Linked DNA regions of Homo sapiens: regions 2, 3 and 4 are each linked to region 1. Evidence: promoter capture Hi-C in 16 types of primary human blood cells and fetal thymus (Javierre and others, 2016). All regions are on one chromosome and are shown on one strand. Each heading gives the region's core, a stretch centred on a gene start or on the middle of the fragment in contact. The rest is flanking DNA. Distances are from core to core; before and after follow the strand shown. Region 1 holds the start of TTC33 (tetratricopeptide repeat domain 33). Region 2 has its middle 98 kb from the start of LINC00603. Region 3 has its middle 44 kb from the start of LINC00603. Region 4 has its middle 120 kb from the start of LINC00603.

What was found. The method cuts DNA at HindIII sites, captures the fragments that hold promoters and counts their contacts. A CHiCAGO score of 5 or more calls a contact.
Region 2: a fragment that was not itself captured here is called in contact with the fragment with the promoter of TTC33 in region 1 in 2 of 17 cell types (fetal thymus and total CD4 T cells); the score reaches 5.4 in fetal thymus.
Region 3: a contact is called between a fragment that was not itself captured here and the fragment with the promoter of TTC33 in region 1, in 2 of 17 cell types (total B cells and naive B cells). The highest score is 7.7, in total B cells.
Region 4: a fragment that was not itself captured here is called in contact with the fragment with the promoter of TTC33 in region 1 in 7 of 17 cell types (activated CD4 T cells, total CD4 T cells, naive B cells and 4 more); the score reaches 9.5 in activated CD4 T cells.

Annotation. Positions count from the first base shown.
Region 1 is chr5:40,754,629-40,757,328 of GRCh38, forward strand. TTC33 (tetratricopeptide repeat domain 33) reads right to left here and starts at 1,333. Exons shown (of 5, transcript NM_012382.3): 1 at 1,196-1,333. RefSeq lists an enhancer at 1,207-1,356. The HindIII fragment of the contact is 9,414 bases long and covers 126-2,700 here.
Region 2 is chr5:39,952,646-39,955,345 of GRCh38, forward strand. No RefSeq gene overlaps it. Among named protein-coding and RNA genes, the nearest start is that of LINC00603, 98 kb to the right of the region's middle. The HindIII fragment of the contact is 479 bases long and covers 1,156-1,634 here.
Region 3 is chr5:40,007,355-40,010,054 of GRCh38, forward strand. No RefSeq gene overlaps it. Among named protein-coding and RNA genes, the nearest start is that of LINC00603, 44 kb to the right of the region's middle. The HindIII fragment of the contact is 1,597 bases long and covers 569-2,165 here.
Region 4 is chr5:39,931,656-39,934,374 of GRCh38, forward strand. No RefSeq gene overlaps it. Among named protein-coding and RNA genes, the nearest start is that of LINC00603, 120 kb to the right of the region's middle. The HindIII fragment of the contact is 3,174 bases long and covers 1-2,719 here.

The DNA of each region.
Region 1 (2,700 bases), core at 83-2,582:
TTCTTCAAAAGTGTCTGGAAACCACAGAGTACAGTCAATTTCATACACGATATGTGCTACAAGAGAGTAAACAAAGGATGCCATGACATCAGAGAAGAGACACTTGAGGCTTTCTGGAGGACTTAAGCTTTGAAGAAAACTTAGCCAGGCTTAAAAAGGTATGTGAATCCTAGAGCATGCAAAGCACTTTCTGCATTAGAAAATTTAACATTCCCAGTTGTTTCAGATATCTTAAGCCGAACGAGTTTATTGTTCCTCTATGACTATCTGAACATGAAATTAAAACTTCTTATGAAGGAGGCTTTCCTGAGTCTAGTTAGAAGCACGAGGCTTCAACATCCTAGACTTAACATTTTTTTACCAGAGTAAGAAACCATGAGAGTAAACCACAATCCACACCGGTTTCATGTTAAACTCATGAAACCAGACAAATTCAACCTTTTATATAGGATTATATTTCAGGAATGGCATAACGATTCTAAACAACGACGCTGTATTCTAAATTCCTGTACTGTTACAAAGATCCCTATAGTAGGCGCTCAACAACTGGCGACGGCTTCACATTTACCCAGCCGCCAGAGAGGGCTTGTCTTGAGTGTGTCTGAGGATGCAGCACCCAAAGGGAAAAACCACTACATGAACAAGATCAGGAAATCACAACAGCATCCTTCTGGGTAAAAGGAGGTATTCAGAGGTGAGGAATCCAAGAAACGATTTACCCAAAAACGCCACCGCAAGAGAAAAACCAGTATTAGTGACTTTCCCTTCATCGGTCAACAATAATAAAAACGCTCAGAAAGGCTGCCCCGGACGTCACCTGCGCGTTCACGGACCGCCCCGGGCCGCAGACACCTCTCCAGCGGGGAGCGGCCGGCTCGTCCCGCCCGTCCCACCGCTCAGGGAAGGTTGCGGCCGCGCAGCTCCGCGAAGGTGCCACGGCGGGCCCGACCCTCAGACTCGCTTGTCCCTGGAGACCAACCCTAGCGACCAGGCTCTGCCGGATCCCGTCGGGTTTCAACTCCTATTCCGAAGGTCCTTTCTCCCCTAATCACAACACCCACTCGCCTCTTTTTCCTCCTCTTCCTCAGCTTCCACCGCCGACCGGGCAGCCCCAGTTACCCGATAACGGCTCCCAAGGCCCCGTGTTTACATTCTTTCCCACTGGAAGCAGAAATTATCACGCCCAAATTCCTACCTGCCTTCCCTGGATTCCTGGTTTCCTAAGAAACGGGTTTGGCCCACCCCTGGGCGTTCGAACAGTCCACAGAAGCGGGCAAAGGAAAGACGACTCAGTCTTTCCCCTCCGCCAATCTCTTCTCCGGGACCACAAATCCCAGAAGTCACCGCGGCCGCCCCCACTGCATGACCTTCTGGGATTTGTAGTAGTCAGGGCCACGCGGCTGGGCGCGCCCTCTAGCAGCAGCCCTGAGTGACCGCAGCGCACGAGCGCGGGAAAATGAGGCTGCGCGGGCTGAAGAGCGCACCGAGAGGAGCCGCCCCCGCGGTACCGCGCAGCCTCGCGTCCCGTCAGTGGGGAACAAGGTGAGGGGAAAACTTATTTTACGGGATTCAAAGGATTAGGATATGCTCCTTCCCCGAAGGGGTTTATAGCCTAGCTGATGAGGTCGGCCAGACGCAGAGAACAGAGAGGCAAAATTCGGTTATAAAGGGCTCGAGGCGGCCGGGCGGGGAGGCTAGTCAGGGAGGCTCGAGGCTGAACTGCAGGCTTCACGTTAAAGTTACAAGTGAGTTGGACCCAGAAGGCAGAATTACAGCCAGAACGTAGCTGTGCATCATGTCTTGAAAATAAACGAGCACATGTAATAAAGGTAATCAAGATTGTTAATTTCTCCAACTCTCCTGCCCAAAAGACTCATTTTTGGAAGTCATACTTTCTCAGCCTCAGCACCATTAACATTTCAAACTGGATAATGCTTTGTTGGGGGACGGGGTGTTCTGTGCATTGTAGGGTGCTTAGCAGCATCTCTGGTCTCTGTCCACGGGATGTCACCACCAGTCGATTGTGACAGCCAATGGTTTCCCCAGTGAAATTTCCCCTGGAAGAAAAACTATCCCTCCCACCCTGCCCCGTTGAGAACCACTGATGTCGACCAACGATTGTCCTGAGGGTCAATGACACCCTTTCAAAGCCAAAATTATTTTCATACTAATATGAAGACGTGATTTGCCCTTTGCACAATGCTGACATTTGCACTGATGGTGGAAAAGCAATGGTAGGTCAAGGTGCTGGCCCCTCCACAGGAATTACAGTAATGACACCAAACCGTACTGGAGCTCTTCACCACCACACGCTCACAGTAAGAAAAATGGGCCGGGCGCGGTGGTTCACGCCTGTAATCTTAGCACTTTGGGAGGTCAGGAGTTCGAGACCAGCCTGGCCAACATGGCGAAACCCCATCTCTACCAAAAATACAAAAATTAGCCAGGCCTGGCGGCACGCACCTGAATCCCAACTACTCGGGAGGCTGGGGTGGGAGGATCCCTTGAGCCTGGGAGGTCGAGGCTGCAGTGAGCCGAGGTCATGCCACTGCATTCCAGCCTGGATGACAGAGCAAGGCACGGTCTCAAAAAAAAAAAAAAAAATGGAAAAATGAACGCTGTCACCAGAGAATATCCCTGATGAAGTTGTAAAAGTTACTTTATTATAACCACTCCGACACTTAATATTCTTTGTAAAAA
Region 2 (2,700 bases), core at 145-2,644, 800 kb before region 1:
AACTCAGCTCTGGATCAAGTGGACCTGATAGGTAACTACAGAACTCTTTACCCAAAAACAACAGAATATACATTCTTCTTGGTGCCACATGACACTTACTCTAAAATTGATCACATAACTCAAGGTAAATCACTCCTCAGCAAATGCAAAAGAAACAGTCTCTCGGAGCACAGTGCAATCAAATTTGAACTCAAGATTAAGAAACTCACTCAAATCCACACAACTACATGGAAATTGAACAACTTGCAGCTGAATGACTCCTGGGTAAATAATGAAATTAAGGCAGAAATCAAGAAGTTCTTTGAAACCAATGAGAACAAAGATACAATGTACCAGAATGTCTTGGATGGAACTAAAGCAGCCTTAAGAGGGAAATTTACAGCACTCAATGTTCATATTGAAAAGCTATAAAGGTCTCAAATTGACACCCTAACATCACAACTAAAAGAACTAGAGAACCAAGAGCAAACAAACCCTAAAGCTAGCAGAAGACGAGAATTAAGTAAGGTCAGAGTGAAACTGAAGGAGATAGAGACATGAAAGACCCTTCAAAAAATCAAGGAATCCAGGAGCTGGTTTTTTGAAAAAAAAATTTACTAAAATAGATAGACTGCTACCTACACAATAAAAAAGAAAACAGAATAATCAAATAGATACAATAAAAATGATAAAGGGGATATTACCACTGACCTCACAGAAACACAAGTGATCATTAGAGAATATTGTAAACACCTCTATAAAAATAAACTAGAAAGTCTAGCATAAATGGATAAATTCCCTGATGTATATATCCTCCCAAGACTGAACCAGGAAGAAGTTGAATCCCTGAAAAGACCAGTAAGAAGTTCTGAAGATGAGGCAGTAATAAATAACCTACCAACCAAATAAAGTCCAGGGCCAGATGGATTTGCAGCTGAATTCTACCAGAGGTACAAAGAAGAGCTGGTATCATTTCTTTTGAAACTATTCCAAATAATTGTAAAGGAAAGACTCCTCTCTAACTCATTTTATGAGGCCAGCAACATCCTGATACCAAAACCTGGCAGAGATACAAGAAAAAAAGGAAATTTTAGGCCAATATCCTTGATGAACATCAATGCAAAAATTCTCAAAAAAAAAAAATACTGGCAAACTGAATCCAGCAGCATATCAAAAAGCTTGTCCACCACAATCAAGTTCGCTTCATCCCCAGGATGCAAGGTTGGTTCAGCATACACAAATTAATAACATAATTCATTACATCAACAGAACTAAGGACAAAAACCACATGATTGTCTCAGTAGATGCAGAAAAGGCCTTCGATATAATTCAACATTGCTTCATGTTAAAAACTCTCAATAAACTAGGTATTGATGGAACATACCTCAAAATAATAAGAGCCAGTTATGACAGACCCACAGCCAATATGATATTGAATGGGCAAATGCTGGAAGCATTCCCTTGAAAACTGGCACAAGACAAGTATGCCCACTCTCACCGTTCTATTCAACATAGTATTGGTACTTCTGGCTAGGGCAATCAGGTAAGAGAAAGAAATAAAGGATATTCAATTAGGAAGAGAAGAAGTCAAACTGTCTCTGTTTCCAGATGACACATGATCCTATATCTAGAAAACCACATCGTCTCAGCCCAAAAGCTTCTTAAACTGATAAGCAACTTCAGCAAAGTCTCAGGATACAAAATCAATGCACAAAAGTCAGAAGCATTCCTATAGACCAACAATAGACAAACAGAGAACTAAATTATGAATGAACCCTCATTCACAATTGCTACAAAGAGAGTAAAATACCAAGGAATATCGGTAACAAGGGAAGTGAAGGACCTCTTCAAGGAGAACTACAAACCACTGCTCAAGGAAATCAAAGAGGACAGAAACAAATGGAAAACGTTCCATGCTCATGGATAGGAAGAATTAATATCATGAAAATGGCCATACTGCCCAAAGTAATTTATAGATTCAATGCTATTTCTATTAAACTACCATTAATATTCTTCACAAAATTACTTTAAAATTCATATGGAACCAAAAATGGAGCCCGTATAGCCAAGCCAATTTTAAGCAAAAAGAACAAAGCTGGAGGCATCATGCTACTCAACTTCACACTATACTACAAGTTTACAGTAACCAAAACAGCATGGTAGTGGTACAAAAACAGACACATAGACCAATAAAACAGAGAAGAGAGCTCAGAAATAAGACCACATGTCTACAACCATCTGATCTTTGACAAACTTGACAAAAACAAGCAATGGGTAAAAGATTCCCTATTTAATAAACGGTGCTGGAAGAACTTGCTAGCCATATGCAGAAAATTGAAACTGGAACCCTTCCTTACTCCTTATACAAAAATTAACTCAAGATAGATTAAAGACTTAAATGTAAAACCTCAAACTATAAAAACCCTAGAAGAAAGTCTAGGCAATACCATTCAGGACATAGGCATGGGCAAAGACTTCTTGATGAAAATGGCAAAAGCAATTGCAACAAAAGCAAAAATTGACAAATGGGATCTAATTAAACTAAAAAGCTTCTGCCAGCAAAGGAAATGATCATCAGAGTGAACAGACAACCTATGCAATGGGGGAAAAATTTCTGCAATGTGTTTATCTGACAATCTACAAGGAACTTAAAAAATTTACAAGAAAAAAAACAACACCATTAAAAAGTAGCCAAAAGACATGAACGAACACTTTTCAAAA
Region 3 (2,700 bases), core at 117-2,616, 750 kb before region 1:
ACTAGAATTATAAGTGACTTACACACCGCCATTATAGTAGGAATATTCTGAATTTGACTGTGTACTTACCTTACCAGTGAATTTTATGCCTTCATATAATTTTATGTTACTAATTAGTATCCTTTTATGTCAGCTTGAAGAATTCCTTTTGGTATTTCTTGTAAGTTAGCTATAGTGGTAATGAACTCTCTCAGCTTTTGTTTGTTTGGAAAAGTCTTTATTGTGCCTTTATTTATGAAGGATAGTTTTACTGGATGAAGTATTCTTGGCTGCCAGTTGTTTTCTCTTTCAGCATTTTAATTATATTATCCCACTCTTGTCTGGTCTACAAGGTCTCTGCTGAGAAATTACTGATATCCTTACGGGAGTTCACTTGTATATGATCACCCTCTTTGCTTTTGCTGCTTTCAAACTTCTTTGCCTTTGATGTTTAACAGTTTGATTATAATGTGGCTCAGTGAAGTCTTTTTTGGGTTGAAACGATTTGAAAATGTTTAAGCTCTATGTACATGAATGTCAATATAGCTCTCAAGATTTAGAAAGATTTCAGCTATTATTACTTTCAGTAAGCTTTCTGGACCTCTCTTTCTTTCTCCTCCTTGGTAAAATTCCATAATTCAAAAGTTACCTCTCTTGATGCTGTCCCATAAATTCCATAGGCTTTCTTCATTACTTTTTGGGTTTTCTGTTCTTTTTTATTCTCTGACTAGATATTTTCAAATTACCCATTTTTTAAGTTCACAGATTTTTTTTCTGCTGTTGATTAGTTGTGCTACTGATACTCTCTAATGCATTTTTATTTAATTTCATTGTTTTCTTCAGCTCCTGAATTTCCATTTGGTTCTTTTTCAATTATTTCTATCCCTTTATTGAAATTCTCTTACTGATCATGTTTTGTCTAATATTTTTGAATTGTCTATTTGTTCCCTGGTAGATTGTTGAGCTTCCTTAATAAAATTATTTTGAATCCCTTGCCAGGCAATTTGTAGATCTTCTTTTCTCTGGGGTTGGTACTGTAACATTGTTGTGTTCCTTTGGTGGTATCATGGTTCTTTGGTTTTTGTTTTTTCATTTTTTTGTATCTTTGTGTAAGTGTTTGAATATTTGAAGATGCAGTCACCTTCTCCGGTGTTTATTAAGTGGCTTTGGAAGAAAAATTCCTTCATCAGTTTTCCTAGCTAGGGATTCTGAGGCTCTTCAGACCTTTTCTATATATGTGCTCATTCCACACCTTTTGTTTTCTCCTGGGGGGCATTCTAAAAATTGTATGCCTTTTCTCAATTATTTGAAGCCAAGCTGTGTGGTGATAGCCTTAACCAGTTGTTCTATTTAGAGAAGTTCTCAGAAATGCTCAAGTTTGTGTGCTTTCTCCCAATCCCTCACAGCTGAGTTGTCTGCTTGTGTGAGATACTTGTATTTGTTGTCTACAGCAGTACACTCAGGGAGCTAGCCTGGGGAGAAAGGCTGAGGTGCATAGTGCACTTGAAATGCTTCTGGTCCAGTTTTTGGGAATCCATAGATGAGACATCTCAAGCAGCTTATGAGTGAGCTTTCTAATGGGTTCCATAGACAGTTAGGAGGGTCTATGACCCATCATCCTTGCTTTCAGCCTCTTCCAACCACGTAGCTGTGCCAATCACCTAAATATTCTGGGTGACATGCAAAAAAAAGTCGGCCTCTTGGGCAATGTCCCACATGGCTAGGGGAGCTGAATGAGTTTCTCTTGGTGCTGAGTTGTGCCACCTTGGGAGAATGGTGATGTGAGTAAAGTAAAACTGTTGTTACTCTGTTTAGTGTGTCTGTTGTTAAATTTTTGCTCCAACACTCTGCTGGAAAATTTCTGCTAAAACCCTGAACTCCCACAATGGTACTTTTATCCATGGGTAGTCGTCAAAATTGATGTTTCTCGGTGAAGATGATGATAGAAATTTTCTATTCTGCCATATTTTCTCAAGTTTTCTTTCTTGGGTGACTAAAAAATAAGGGCTTTTGTTTCCTCATCTATAAAGAGAAAATTTGGAATAGATAATAACAACCCAAATCTATAGAATACTTCACTAATTACAGAATATTTTTTATATCCATTATCTTCTTTGATTCTCACAATAACTGCTGAGGGTAGTAAGACAGTTATTGAATTTTCATTGAATAGATGCAGAAAATGAAGCTTAAAGAAAATATACTTAAGATCATATTGATTGGGAACTGGGGAAACCAGGACATGGATCCAAGTCTTCTGACTCTTTATTCAGTGTTTATTTCACTACTACAATGAGCTCCAACTTTGAGATATAAAACATAAATATTTGCAGGTTTCATGCATTTATAGTTTTTAGAAATATGCCATTTTAACATAAAAGTTGATGACTAAAATATCAAATATAAAACTCCCAGGTAATCCTCTTACTTGTCACATTTTATTCACACTTGTAAGAATTACAGTTTGACACGCCTCAATGTAGAAAGGCTTTAGGAAGTCTAAAAAATATTACTTTGCATGAGGGGGTGAAGGAATGGGAAATGATAGAAAGTACTATTTTTATTACAAATATTGCAAATTATATAGTAAAAAATGGAAAGGGAATTTATCAAATGGACATTAATACTTTGACCTCATTCTGTGATACATTTCATAATGACACTGAAACCTAAAATATCAATGCAGTTTTCTCTTTTTATAATAGAGAAGTTAATTGCTCA
Region 4 (2,719 bases), core at 144-2,643, 820 kb before region 1:
TACCACAGGCATTGACATGCTAGTCTATCCCCTTCCACCTATGTCTTTTCTAAGTTCGCCCTAGAAGAAGGTATCAGCAGTGACACAGTCAAAGGAAGCGGGGGACCAGCAACACTTCTACCACTGGTGATTGGGCTCTCCTTGCCCCTCTTCAAGTGAGGTATCCAACTCAAGTCACATCTTTAAAGACTGCTTCCTGGGACCGATTCCAGTACTATCTTGGTCAGATTTTCTAGGAACACAGCCTGAGATTCCTGTGTTAAAAATGTATTGATCAAGAATTCTCAGAGAAAAAAAGAATTATCAGAAAAAAGGGTAGTGAGCGAAGCAGAATAAGGTAAAGGAACAGAAAAAACAAAAAAGAAAAACAAAAATAAAAACCCAAGCAGGAAAGTGATCTCAGCTAGAAACTAGCTTTAGCCTGAATCCATGGGGAGCTTTGGAGCACAAATAGCATCATAAAGGTGGTTCCACCATGAGTAAAGGAGCCAGCTTTTTGGATCCCTTCTCTCCATTAGTCAGTTCTCTATCTGTAGCTGCTTGTGGGTGGAGAGTAGGGAGAGGAACTCTAACCTCCTATATAATGTTGGATGTGAGCTGAGATCAACTCACCTGAGAAGGATCAGCTGTGGGTTTTCAGCAACCAATGCTAGCAACTATTATGGGATGGATACATGAGCTCAGTGAAGGAGATCTGGGATTACACATCATTCAAACCAGGATAATTTTAAGAGCAAATGGGACAGCTATTGATAAATACGCCAAAAAAAAACACAGAAAAACAAAAGTGTCCTAAACAAATGAAGGCATAGTCATCCTACCTTCACCACATTACTCCCCTGCTCTATGGAATATAGCTCTAATGAAACCCTAGATTTCTTTGAGGGACTGAAACTCTAGGGAGGAAAAACCCCACATCTGTTCTATAAATCTTCCCCCTTGGAGTTGAAACTTGATGTAAGGGTGGAGATGAGAGGGGAAATTCGAGGAGCTAATTTCCTCAGTTTTATGCCTCCTCATTTCAGTTCTTTGGGACTAGCTGGAGAATTGTTTATCTTAAAAAATAGTTTTAATCTGGGAAATAACATATTTTTTCATCACTTAAATACAAAATGAATTTAAATCCACAGTGCAAAGCTACATTTTGTCAGGTTAATTATTCTAATTATACAACCAGATCAAAAAGAAAAAACAATTATAAATCTTTTAAAAATGGTTTTCGATGTTAAATGTTAAAAATGAAGTAAATTGTGTTCCTTTTACAAAAACTATATTCAAGAAACCAAAGGAGCCAAAAGAGTTGTGAAATGATAAAATATGTTTTAGATTGTAGATGTGAAGGCATTTTTTAGTGTTTCCAATACATAATTTTGGTAAGACACTTCTGGGGAAAATATTTTATTCAAAAACAAAACATAGTAAGAAAAAAATGATTTTTCAAATGCATAAAAAACAGATTTTTACAAAGAAAAAGAAAAAAAAAGTGTCTTTAAAATTGTTTCCTGGAAGTGCTTGTAGAAACTAGGGAAAAACATTTTCTGTTGGAGGCAGCAACTCATATCTTAGCATGTGAGAGTTTAAGGCAGAAGGGTGCATATTTCACAATTAGTCACCACTTTCTCAAGAACTTCATTATCAATTCTCAGTTGATAATTTCACTCAGCTTGAGTGGAATACTACTGGACAACTCCATGAAACCAGCAATGTTTTGTGAGTGAATGACTTGATCGTATCACAAAAACAAGCAGTATTTCTTTTAATTCAGTTGGTATATTTGTGATATTGGAGTGTAGAAATACTATTTAACAGCTTTACTGAGGTTTAAGTGAGAAACAACAAACTGGACTTATAAAACTTTTGACCTATGAATACATCCATGAAAGCATCATCACAATCAAAATAAACATTTATTTTCTTCCAAAATACTTGTTATGCCCCTTTGGAATACATGTCCCTGTTCATTTTGTGCCCAAGCCCCTGTCCCCAAGAAACCCTTGGTCTTTCTGCTATTAAGATTAGTTTCCATTATATGGAATTTTTATATATATGAGATCATACAATAAGCGCTCTTTTTTTTGGTCTGGCTTCTTTCATGCATGCGTCATAAATATTTTGACATTATCATCCAGTTGGATGATATTTTTTACTTTATAAAATAGTGACCACCAAATATAACAAATATTTGGTCATTATAAAAATATATGGTCACTTTATTTTTCATTCATTATATAAATATTTGGTCACTTTTTTATAATGACCAAATACTATTTTTACATTTTATTTTTTTTTTTTACATTATAAAAAAGTGACCAAATATGTTGGAATGGGATGGGAAGAAAATATACTTCCAACATTTTGTCAGTTGATTTTCTAAACTGATTGTACCATTTTACATTACCAAAAACAAATTAGGCAAAAATTTCTTAGCTACAATGCTAACACCATGATCCATAAAACTTTTTAAAATGATAAATTGAATTTCATCAAAATTAAAAACATCTGTTGTTTAAGACATTGCTTATAAAATAAAAAGACAATTCATAGACTTGAAGAAAATATTTGCAAATTATATATCTGACAAAAACTTTTATACTGCATATATAAAGAATGTTCAACCCTCAATAAGAAAAAAACAAATGATCCAATAAATAAAATGGGTGACATAGTTAAACAGATAATTCAAGAAGAAGAAATATAGATGGCAAATATTCATGTGATA